2 separate regions of the Homo sapiens genome follow, and region 1 is linked to region 2. Evidence: promoter capture Hi-C in human tissues and cell types (Jung and others, 2019). All regions are on one chromosome and are shown on one strand. Each heading gives the region's core, a stretch centred on a gene start or on the middle of the fragment in contact. The rest is flanking DNA. Distances are from core to core; before and after follow the strand shown.

Region 1 (5,942 bases), core at 3,443-5,942, 260 kb before region 2:
GCCAGAATGGGGGAGCCCCCCGGTGTGCCCAGACAGCTGAGCCAGGGGATGGTGGGGAGACTTGAGCGGCTTTGTCTGTCCAGGCACCCCAAGTGGGCCCAGGCTGCTGGGGACATGTGCCTGGGGTGGACTGGGGACCCAGCTATGGGACTCATGGAGGGACTCACAGTTCATCCACACACTCCCTGCCCACTGCACAGAATGTTCCACCCTGTCATCAAGGCAGAAGCTGCAGATCTGTGGTTGCCCTTGGAGCTGCCACACCTGGTCTTGAGTGATGGACACACACATATGATTCTCAGGCCAGGTCCATGCCAGTGGTAGCCTACCTCTGGATCCCCCTTGCAGGGGCTGACCTGGTAGCATGTCCAGGGGGAGATGAGTGTCCCCCACTACATCCATCTCCCTGCAGGACATCCTGCCAGGGGAAGGAGGAGACACCGGTCCTGACCCCAAGAGATAGTGCCTGCCCCGAGGGGACCTGAGGGACTGAAAACAGTCCCTCAGCCTTTATGCAGTGTGGGTCTCTTGTGGCAACCCAGGTTTTGGGGAGATGAGGGGAACAGAGGGAACAGAGCCAGGCAGGTCTCCCCCCATGCACAGAGCTGAGGGGATAACTGAGCTGGACAGAGGCCCGTCCTCACCCTGAGCTGTAGTGACCATTTGAAGAAACATCCCTGAGAGAGGCCCACTCTTTCTCCCACAACCCCCTGGGGTCCGCAGCCTTCCCTGGAGGCACCAGCTTCCTGCTCACATTCCTGGGGTGGGGGCAATGGGAGCCCCTCTTGTGGGTTTCCTGAGACTCACACAGGAGTCCGGGCTCCTTGTTTGTGCAGAACAGGCACCCCAAGTGGGCCCAGGCTGCTGAGGACATGTGCCTGGGCTGGACTGGAGACCCAGCTATGGGACTCATGGAGGGACTCACAGTTCGTCCACACCCACCCTGCCCAATGCACAGAATGTTTCACCCCATCATCAAGGCAGAAGCTGCAGATCTGTGGTTGGATTGTGAAGGGCTATGACAGCCCCACCTTCAGAAGGGGGGCATCAAACATGCAGGAGGGGATAGGAGCCCCAGAGGTGGGCCTGGCACTCACAGATTTCCCCAGATCCCGGGAGCCGTCACAGGGGCAGAGCCTGGGCCTGGACATTTGTTCTCCCCCAGGGACCCTGCTCTCTCTGTTTCTCTGCAGGGCCCCAGTACCCCATCGTGGCCTGACATTAGTGTATTGGGATTGTCTTTACCACCTTCTCCCCCAGAAGACTGTGTCTCCAGGGCTTCTCTGTCTTGTTCTTTGAGTCTGAGTGCCCAGCACAGTGCCAGGCACATAGTAGGCACTTTATAAACACCTGCTCATAAACATAACGCTAGCCACCAGCCTTTTCCAGGTGCTTTATTTATTTGGCCTCGAATCCCCTAATATGCCTGTGAGGCAAGGCTGTTATTCCCATTTCCCAGAGAAGGAAACTGAGGCTCAGAGAGGCTGAATGTCCTGCCCAAGATTTCGCCCCTGCTTGCCCCGATTCTAGGCTGCTCTGTCCTGGCTCAGTGGGGCTCTACTTTTCCTTCCTCCTGCCCTGAAGCCTGTGGCTCTGGCTTGTCCACCCGAGGCTGGGGGCCCTGCAGCAGCCCCCTCTCTCCCCTCAGCTTCTCTGCCCCCCTCCTTAGCCCCCAAGCTGCCTCCTGCCTTCCCAGTCTGAGTTGGCTGGGGAGCTTGTAAAACAGCCCCACCAGCAGGCTTGTCCTGAGCGGTGCTGATGCGGGAGTTGGAGCAGGGCTGCAAATCTTCATGGGGACTCTGACGATCTGTCTGGTTGGAGAATCACTGCAAGTCAAGGCGTGGCATTGGCCAATGGTGTTTCCCGGCTGCCTCAGGTATGCCATGATCTCATGCCTCATGCTTGACATGGGCAGTACGAAGGAGGGAGGAAGGAGGCAGGGTGTGGGGAGGAATCCTCTGCCTGGAGGATGCCCACTGGGCTTCTCTGTGCTCACCAGGCTTAGTGGTCCTGGCTCTTGGCCACCTTGGGGCAGGTGTGCATCACTGGTGCACAGGAAACGCCTCCTCCTCCTCCTCTGTCAACTCAGATCCTCTGAGGCCCTGCTGGTGCCTCTCTCTGCTAGGACCCTTTCAGGGATCAAGGCCAGGAGGGCAGCCCCCTCCTCTACTGCTGAGGCTCAGCGGGGCAATGCCTACCCCAGCTGCCTCCTGTGGTGTGGGCATGGCAGGCAAGCCCAGCACCCCAGGGTTTCTAGCCAGGTTCTGTATTTTCCAGCATTAGTTTTCCCTCCAGGGTCAAATGATAAGTTCTTCTAAGGTCAGAGACTATGTCATCATCTCCCTCTTCACCCCCAGCCCCCGAGAGCTGTACACACAGCAGGTGCGTGATCTATGGAGTTGGCTGAGCAGTTTGGCGCGTTGGTCAGCAACTTCCTGCAGCTTCTCAGCCCATGCAGATCCCCAGGTCTGCAGTGCTGGGCTTGTGTATAATCCCGCCCTGACACCTCCTGGAATGGGGAACTTGGTGGGGGGCAGTGAGCCAATGAGAAAGGGGTGTGTGTGCATGCACACACGATGGGGGCAGAGAGTGAAGAGTTCTCAGAGACTCTACTACGAGAGTCGGTGTGAATCCTGGCTTGGGAGTTAGAGCTGGCTCGAGTCTCTGCTCTCTCACTTTTGTGCTGCTTAACCTGGATAAGGCTTTCGCTCTCTCCAGTTGGGGTATTAATAGCCTTTGGTGACCTTGAAGACCATTTTCAGTTCTGAGGGTGATGGGTCTGTGGATGGACCAGAACTCCAGGCCCAACCTGACACCTGAACACTGAGGTTTTTGTCCAAGATTCCGGGGTCCCCTTTGCCCCTTTTTGGGGTAGGGGTGAGGAGTGTCAGGTTCCCTCTCCCAGGTTTGACTCTGAAGGGATGTGCATCCGTTCTGCTCTTACCTCTGGGATGAATGACCAGGGGAGATGTAGCAGTGACAAAACCCTGGTTCTGCTGAGACAAGGAATTGCCTGCCCCAGTGGAGCTCAGGCAGAAGCAGGCTGTCTCTGGGCTCCTCACCTCAACAGAGACACTGCAGAGCAAGGCCAGTGGCCAGCACCGAGGGATGCCCCACAGCACCCTGAGGAGGCCCCGTCTTGGTGCCCAGACCCCTCCATCCTCCCTCCAGTCCTCGGTGCTGGACCAGGCTCTCAGGCCAAGGCCATGCCCACCATGGGCAGACCTCCTGCCAGTGATCGTGGGGAGGTGGGTGAGAGTTGGGTATACTGGCCCCGCCTGCAGGCATGGTGGGAGCCTGGAGAGGGCCAGAGTTCTGGGTTCTAGTTGCAGCTCTGCAGCTTAAAGCAGAGTGACTTTGAGTGAATCTCTACGCTCACAGAACTGTATGGCACACACTGGGCTCTCCATGCATGCCTGAGTGGGCCCATAACCAGTGCTCTCCCCCAGCTCAGCTGGATGAATGGAGCTGCCAGGCCTAGCCTGGGATCTGTGGACACAGGAGAGAGAACTGCTGGGAACGGATCCCCGGCTAGTCCTGTTTCTACAGGGTAGGGGGGGACTCTGAGGCCCAGGTGGGGTCAGGGGTCATACCTGGCTGTAGTGGCAGGATGGGGCTCCCTCCCACCAGCCTGCAGGTGGGGTGCCTGTGATTAGGAGAGGGCGGTAGAGGAGTGGCAGAGCTAGGTGTGGGGCTGTGGTGTTCTTCAGCTGGGAGTGTGGGGGGCGCAGGGCCCTGCTTAGGGGTGCGGGATGGTGCCAGTGTGTAGAGGTGAGTGTGAGGAGCAGGTGGCTGGAGGGGCAGGATGGGGAGGCTGAGGGGCAGGGCTGGCCCTCGGGGAAGGGCCGGTGGGGTCCTTCGCGCATGTTTCTTTGTGGCTAGTGGTGTGTCATCCCCTTTTACAGATGAGAAAACTGAGGACCAAGGGGCTATAGGACCAGCCTGTGCTGTACAGTTGGTAAGGGCAGAGCAGGGACTCAGTGCCGCCTGTCTAGCTCCATGGCCAGTGCTGTTTGTATGGTGCACACACTTCTGGAGATCCCGGGGGCTCAAGGCAGCCTCTGGAACTGGAATTAGATCCAAGAGGGGAAAGAGAGTTATAGGATTTTTAGAACAGAAGGGACTCTGCAGTCACCCAGTCCAGCCTGGTCACTGAGGGGAAACAGGCCCAGAGGTGGGAGGTGGGGAGCCTCAGGCCACACAGCAAGCAGAGTGAAGACAGGAACTCTGCCCCTGCCCAGAGTGGGACATGTGGGATCCCCACAACTGCTCCCCAAGACAGCCCAGGATGGCATCACTGAGCTCTCTTTCAGCCAAGGCTGTCACTGTGGGGCAGGGAGTTCTTCTGAAGGGCTGACTCACTGCCTGGGGACGCAGTTGCCACAAAGCCACCTGTGCCAAGGCCCGACTGGCCCCGAGGGCTCCAGGAAAGGGAGCCTGATTCCCCACCGCCTAGCCTGAGTCACCACCGAACTCGCATTTCTGTGTTTTTCTCTCGGCCCCACACCCCCAAAGCTGGGTGGGAACTCTGAGCCGGCACACAGCAGAGTTGATCCTGGGCTGAATAATCCAGAGTGAGGAGTTGGACGGGACCGGGAGTGATGAAATCCAGAGGGGAACCTGGAGTCAGCAGTTAGGAGGGCCCCGCCTTCCCCAGCTGCATATAAAGGTCTCTGGGGTTGGAGGCAGCCACAGCACGCTCTCAGCCTTCCTGAGCACCTTTCCTTCTTTCAGCCAACTGCTCACTCGCTCACCTCCCTCCTTGGCACCATGACCACCTGCAGCCGCCAGTTCACCTCCTCCAGCTCCATGAAGGGCTCCTGCGGCATCGGAGGCGGCATCGGGGGCGGCTCCAGCCGCATCTCCTCCGTCCTGGCCGGAGGGTCCTGCCGTGCCCCCAGCACCTACGGGGGCGGCCTGTCTGTCTCCTCTCGCTTCTCCTCTGGGGGAGCCTGCGGGCTGGGGGGCGGCTATGGCGGTGGCTTCAGCAGCAGCAGCAGCTTTGGTAGTGGCTTCGGGGGAGGATATGGTGGTGGCCTTGGTGCTGGCTTCGGTGGTGGCTTGGGTGCTGGCTTTGGTGGTGGTTTTGCTGGTGGTGATGGGCTTCTGGTGGGCAGTGAGAAGGTGACCATGCAGAACCTCAATGACCGCCTGGCCTCCTACCTGGACAAGGTGCGTGCTCTGGAGGAGGCCAACGCCGACCTGGAAGTGAAGATCCGTGACTGGTACCAGAGGCAGCGGCCCAGTGAGATCAAAGACTACAGTCCCTACTTCAAGACCATCGAGGACCTGAGGAACAAGGTGGGTGACTTTGGTGTATGGAGCACTGAGAGAGGCTGGGGCTACAGTGGCCCTTGGGATACCTCTTTTTAGCAATTACACTTTACAAACAGGGAGACTGGGCACCTTTGGGGAGTGGCCAGGATCACCCAGGGAAGTGGTAGCAGAGGGTCCCTTTTCAGTATCTCTGTGCCCGGACTGGGGCTGTTACCCTAAATCTCTTATTTCCTTCAAGGGTTCAGCTGCAAGTTCAGCTTCCCTGCCTTGGGCCCAGGAAGGGGGTGATCGGGATGGAGTGCATCCCTACGTAGCCTGAGCTGGTGGAGAAGGCATGCCAGCCCTGCCAGCCAGAAGACTTCCAGATTTGGGGCGGTTCCTTTTGCCCCTTTCTGCCTTTCATGCTCAAGTAGTAAGGTCCTTGGCTGACCAGGGCTCCTGTCCTCCATCCCCACTCCAGATCATTGCGGCCACCATTGAGAATGCGCAGCCCATTTTGCAGATTGACAATGCCAGGCTGGCAGCCGATGACTTCAGGACCAAGTGAGCAGCCAGCATGGTGGGCTGGGGGCAGAGGGCAAGGGACAAAGAGTGGGGCGGTCCACCCAGCAGGGCCAGCAGACCCCGAGCCTCAGAATCCTCAGGGCTGCAGCCTGAGGACCTGA
Region 2 (6,273 bases), core at 2,521-5,020:
TTAATTATCCCTTATGTGTATGTGGGAAGTATAGTCTATGGATGCGGGTCAATATGAGGTGGTTCTAGCAGCCAATCTTGGACCATGGGCTAGCAGTCAATGGCAGAATGTTTCTCCAAGGGTTACTCCTCCTTGTCTTCTCCTTCACCCGAAGCTCAGACCTCATGCCAGTCAATTCATGAGCTATAGGTAGCTTGATTTCCCTTCATTCCTTCTTAGTAGCTCACCTTTGGAATGGACAAAGTCAGCAGATATCACAAGGGCATGAATGCCGATCACAACAAAGACTTTATTTCTAGAACAGGCTCAAGTGTAATGTAGTAATTATATTGGAACAGGAGCCTCCTAGGCTTTTTTTTTTTAATAACTCATTGTTCCTCTAGAAGATTTGCAAGAATTTCCTTCTGAAATTTTAAATGTAAATTTTATTTTGTTTATTGTGCAGAAGTAACATATATTTTCAAAGAATTTGGAGAGAAGAAAAAAAACATTCATAATCCTGTCATTTAATAGCATCCAGTGTCATTGTGGTGTGTTTTCTTTAATCTCTCAATTGTCCCCATTTTAATAATAGTTTAATTTTGTTGTGACTATCTTTTGTGTACCTTACTCTGGATAAGCATATTGCTGTCGAGTAGGGTCACCATTGTTTGACCAATTGTTCTAAGTTGCTCCAAACAGATGGGATATAATCTATATCTGATGGGATATAATTATGTTTAAATTACTCCAAATTGTTGGTATATAATTGTATCATCAACTTAGAAATAATTGAAATCAGAGAGTTAACAAGAAACTGTACTATTGCTGAATTCTATCTTTATTTACACATTGACTCATAATTCTTCTTCAACACAGCATATCTATGGTTAACAAGATGTTTTTCTCACTGCCCTTGATTTCTGTCCTTAGGTAATAACAGATCAGATTGTTTGTGAAATTCTTCAACATTTCAGTAGAATGGTGATTGGGCTGATAATGCAGTGGGAATCAGAAGATCTGGGTCCTAGCTAGATGATACTAAGCAAGGCATTTCTCCATTCTGAGCCTCAGTTTCCCCTTCGTAAAACGAACGGTTTGGATGAGTTGACCATTAGGATCCCCAATATCTTGTTCCAAGATTTTCCCTCTCTCTTTTAACCATTTTCATATTTAGGATCTATGTTAGGAGGTAAGAGGGAGGAAGAGAAGAGCCAAATGCAAAGCCATCTGGTTTTTGGTCTGTAGCTGTAGCTGGGAGGCTTGGAAGCTGCTTGGATTGGTAGCTGTAGCTGGGAGGCTTGGAATCTGTTGTCTGCTTTATCCTCTGCTAGCAAGGACATAGGAAGCCCCTCCTCTTTCTGGCCAATGTATGCCTCCTCAGGCCCATACTTGAATTTTTTCCTCATTGCCTCTTTAGGATATCAAATAAGGCTCATCTTACATCTTGTGACAAAACAGAAGTGGTGTCATATGCACGGTCAGTTCAGATTACTCATGCTTCTTGGATAATTGTTCCTAAATAATAAACTATTACGAATCATCAAGTTCAAACAAGTCTGGCATCTGCGTAAAGCCCACTCCAATTATTGTATAAAAGTCTGTATTGGTAAGATCAAAGCTCCAAGCTTAATAATCAGATATATAAATTTATTGCAGCAGAACTTCTCTAAGTAATGAACATCTCAATTCTGTGTGTTTGAAGTCTTGGTTTACCGAAGTTCACTGTGGGCATTACTTTAAGAATGTGCACAGGCGCTGCGTACAGCAGGCATACCTGTGTGACCCTGGAAAGGTCCTGGTAAATTTCTGGTCAAGGCAGCCAATACCCTCTCCATGGTCCTGATCATGTGCGGCCCCTTTGCTGCACTTGGCACTTCTAACATCACCTCCTCTTGGAAGCACCCTCCTTCCTGCCCTTCTGGGATGCCATGAACTTGTTTTTATCATTTTTTTCTCACCATTTCTCCATTTATCACAGATTCTTTTTCCTTCTCCTGATCTCTGATTGGGAAATTCTCCAAAGTTTGGTCCTCAGCTCCTTGTTGCTCTTCTCTTTGTACTCTCCCTTGGCCCAGTTCTCTAACTCTCTCACTTGTACTAAACCTTATCTGTATCATCATCCCTGCCATAAATTCTAGTCTTGCATGGACTGTTGCAATAGTCTCTTTGCTGAACTCTTTGCCTCCAATCTTTCCTTCATTTTTCAAAAACAGATAAATATTTGCTAAAACATTTCCTAAAACACCTTTTGTCACACCACACTTAGGTTCAAAAGCTTATACTGGCTCTACAGCTTCTGGGGAAGTCCAAGCTGCTCCACTTCACCATCGAGACCCCCTACCATAGGGTCCCCATACAATCCCCCATAAAGCTTTAATTTCTAGCACTTCCCTTCACAACTCTCCCCTTCCTGCTGCCTAGACTTACCCTGGTCCTTCAACCATGCCTTGGGCTTTCCCACCCCATTCCTGTGTGCACATTATTCTCCTCACCTGCACTTCCTACTTTTCTCCCCTCTGCTTCTTAGAAGCCTCCCTATCCCAGCACAAATCCATTCATCCATTCCTAAGAGCCTCCAATCCTGGAGCTGCTCGCCCTCCCCAGTGTGTAAACCACTCAGTTATCACTTGTCAACTTCTGCCTCAGATTATTATTTCCTGTTCATCCCTTCATCACTCTACCCACACCCATTCAACAGTGCCTACCAGGTGCCTAGAGCTGGGGATTCAAAGACAAACTAGACCCTGCCCTTGCCTTCAGGGACCTCAAATAGAGACAGAGAGACAAGCACATAAGTCATGACAGTGTCATGCTCAAGGTAAAAAGAGAGCTTGGAGAGGAGAAAGGGACGGCCTGTCTGAAGAAGGGAAGGAAGTAAGCCATTTATATTTAAGCCAAGTGTTGTGATGAAAAGAAAAGTGATCTGCTTTGGAATCCTAGGTCCACAACTTATTATCCTCACCCTCTATGCCTTGGTGTTCTCATCTATAAAATGGGAATTATACAGTTTACCTTTAAGAGTTCTGGTGAGGAATAATGGACATCTAAGTTCTGCATGTTTGAGGATCATGTTTGTAAAAAGGATCTAGTTTGTGAAAAGTGTCCACACTACCTTGGGCTTGTGCAGTTTCTTAACAAGTAAGAACTTCTTCTGACCATAGCATTGAGTCCTATTTTCCACCCCTCCCAGTGTCTATTACATCGCCCTGGATGAAATTGTCATAGTGGATATCTATTATTTGGTTGATTGACGTCATCATGGACATGAAAAAAGCCCATCATATCAGGAAACATGGCCATCAGGAACTGTCCCAGAAAGGATCTATTCCTCTTTCTGAGAACCATGAATTTGGAATTTGGCACTTGGAAATGTGACCTAGCAAAAGACACAGGGCAAGAGCTATGCTTTTCCATTTCACCAAGGAGAGCCAGAGCTTGCCAAAGAGTTAGGGGCCTCAAGCCACAAAGCAGAACAGCAATACTGTCTCTTGACCTGCTGCACCCCACTGAAGAAGGCCAGGGCTTTCATGAGTCCAGGTCTTTGAAGTCACACCATGAAGCTCTTACATCATGACACACAGCATGGAAGAGGAGTCCCGACTTAGCGAGAAGCCCAAGTAAAGTATTTTATGAGGGGAGAGACTCTTCTGAAGAAACACAACAAATGGAGGGAAGGGCTTTTGACAATCACCAAATGAGCAAAAAAAAAAAAAAAAAAAAGGGGTTGTCTTACGTGTCCACACCCTCCATGGACGAGGTATAAATGCTCCCTGGAGGAAGGAGACCCACCGCTCTACAACCTGGAGATTTTGGACTCTGTCTTCAGCTGGACACTCCCTCCCTGCACCATGTCTTACAGTTGTGGCCTGCCCAGCCTGAGCTGCCGCACCAGCTGCTCCTCCCGGCCCTGTGTGCCCCCCAGCTGCCACGGCTGCACCCTGCCCGGGGCCTGCAACATCCCCGCCAATGTGAGCAACTGCAACTGGTTCTGTGAGGGCTCCTTCAATGGCAGTGAGAAGGAGACCATGCAGTTCCTGAACGACCGCCTGGCCAGCTACCTGGAGAAGGTGCGTCAGCTGGAGCGGGACAACGCGGAGCTGGAGAACCTCATCCGGGAGCGGTCACAGCAGCAGGAGCCCTTGGTGTGTGCCAGCTACCAGTCCTACTTCAAGACCATTGAGGAGCTCCAGCAGAAGGTGAGGAGTGGGCGACACAGTGCCTCCAGTAGGAAGTTGTCGGGAGAGAATCCGAGTTGTGATTGAGAAACAACGTAAGCTCTTGATGTGAATGAAAAGCTGAAAACTGGCCTTTCCATTTTGTTTTTTGAGGGCCCATCTAATACTAGACTTGGGACTGTTAGGTCTAAATATTTGCATAGTGTTAGTCTATGTGGAGGTAGCAGCACTTTGCATAAATGAGCTGTAATTAAAAACTACCTCTGAATGCTTCCATGCACCTGCCAAGCTCCAGAATTATTACCCTGAGGTGAGAGAAAAGGACTGAGTCCAAAGGAAGCTGGGGAAACGGAATCTTTTGTAAAGACTGGGCCATTTTCTTTCTCCCTCATCTGAGCTTTTTGCCCCTTGGACTGCTGGCTGCCTCTCTCTTCTAGGTTCCTACTTATCCTGATTTCATTGTCCTCACCTTCATGCCTCTGGGCTTCTCCTGGTGCACAGTGTCCAGTGAGAGCCTAAAATGTTTGGCCCAAATTGGGAAGATTGGAAATTACCTAGGACAAAGTAGTCCCAGTTGTCTGGGACATCTGGGAACATGTGGCTTCTTCCCTGATCCAGTCCCCTGCAATTGCTAGTTTACCTATTTGTCTTTTCTGCTTGATTGAAAGTTTCTTGAGGGCAGGATCAAGTGCTTACCAATTTTTGTATCCTCAGCTCCTAGTATCATGCCAGAAACATAGTAGGTGTTTTTCATAAATGTCAACTATTATGATCAGCTTCTCAGTATTGCTCATTAGGATAGAAAAAAGATTATCTACTTATACTTTTTGCATATTTTGGTGTTCTTTTTTTGAATATAATTTTGGAAATATTCATTGAGTACCTGCTGTATATAGAAAGCATTTAATAAGATAGACATCCTGATCCTTCCAAGGAAGTGAATTAGGAAGGACTGCCATTGGTGAAAAATTACCAAGTCCTTGCTCATTCTTGAATGTTTTGGGCCTTCTAGATCCTGTGCAGCAAGTCTGAGAATGCCAGGCTTGTGGTGCAGATCGACAATGCCAAGCTGGCCTCAGATGACTTCAGGACCAAGTGAGTGGGCAAGCGGGGTGTTGCTGTTTATTTCTCTTCTCTGGCAGCCCTCCTTTCCTTTAGCCTGTTGTCAACACAAGTTAAACAAACAGTGACTGAGCTATGTTCTAGCTGCTTTCTCCAAGATTCACAGAGCCACCACACACCGTAGCTCAGAGATCCTTTCCCCAGGCCTTAGACTTCCTTTCCTCCTTCTTCTCCTCTGTGACGTGACACCCCTAGTCGTACTGTGAGTTAGTGTAGACGTGTTGGCCCCCGATGTTCTCCTATGCACAGAACCCATTCATGAGAATGGAGAATGTGGAAGCATATTATTTTGGAAGTCTTACAGTTTGTCAGCTTTTATCCTAAATCCACTGGCTTTCTTCTTTTTTTTAGAGACAGGGCCTTGCTCTGTCACCCAGGCTGGAGGGCAGTGGTGCAATCATAGCTCAGTGTAACTTCAGATCCTCAGACTCCTGGGCTCAAGCAACCCTCTCCCCTTAGCCTCCTGAATAGCTAGGAATATAGAAGTCTATCCACTGGATCTTTAAACGTAAAATTACCAGTGCATTTTCTTCCAGCTCGATGCTGAAAACCTAAACAAAAGAGATGGCTATAAAAACTACAAACCCTAATTCCTAGTTGCCTGACTAACCAAACCAAAGCAGAGTCAAGGCCAGGCCTATTCCTGCCCAGCCTGTTCCTGACCCTCCTGTGATCACAGATATGAGACCGAGCTGTCCCTGCGGCAGCTGGTGGAGTCGGACATCAATGGCCTGCGCAGGATCCTGGATGAGCTGACCCTGTGCAGGTCTGACCTGGAGGCCCAGGTGGAGTCCCTGAAGGAGGAGCTGCTGTGCCTCAAGCAGAACCATGAGCAGGTGAGTTCCCTGAAGAGTGATGGGCTCAGACTAGCCAGGACCTGTTTCACAACTGCCACAGGGTCCAGGACAGGCTGTCAGTAGAGGCTCAATTAGCTGAGGAAGTAATTCTGCATACAAAAAGGGATATGTAGAGAATGACTAATCTAAAAACCTGT

Evidence for each region. Contacts are between HindIII fragments. The study calls those that stand out against the background at their distance.
Region 1: the fragment with the promoter of KRT16 here is called in contact with the fragment with the promoter of KRT33A in region 2 in 2 of the 25 tissues and cell types used here (mesenchymal stem cells and spleen).

Annotation. Positions count from the first base shown.
Region 1 is chr17:41,611,517-41,617,458 of GRCh38, reverse strand. KRT16 (keratin 16) reads left to right here and starts at 4,692. Exons shown (of 8, transcript NM_005557.4): 1 at 4,692-5,301; 2 at 5,738-5,820. The coding sequence starts at 4,771. RefSeq lists an enhancer at 3,113-3,661. The HindIII fragment of the contact is 12,932 bases long and covers 1-5,942 here.
Region 2 is chr17:41,348,325-41,354,597 of GRCh38, reverse strand. KRT33A (keratin 33A) reads left to right here and starts at 3,770. Exons shown (of 7, transcript NM_004138.4): 1 at 3,770-4,178; 2 at 5,170-5,252; 3 at 5,959-6,115. The coding sequence starts at 3,831. It overlaps LOC105371778 (a long non-coding RNA gene), which reads right to left and starts at 3,101. Exons shown (of 2, transcript XR_001753056.1): 1 at 2,995-3,101; 2 at 800-2,176. The HindIII fragment of the contact is 5,093 bases long and covers 1,933-6,273 here.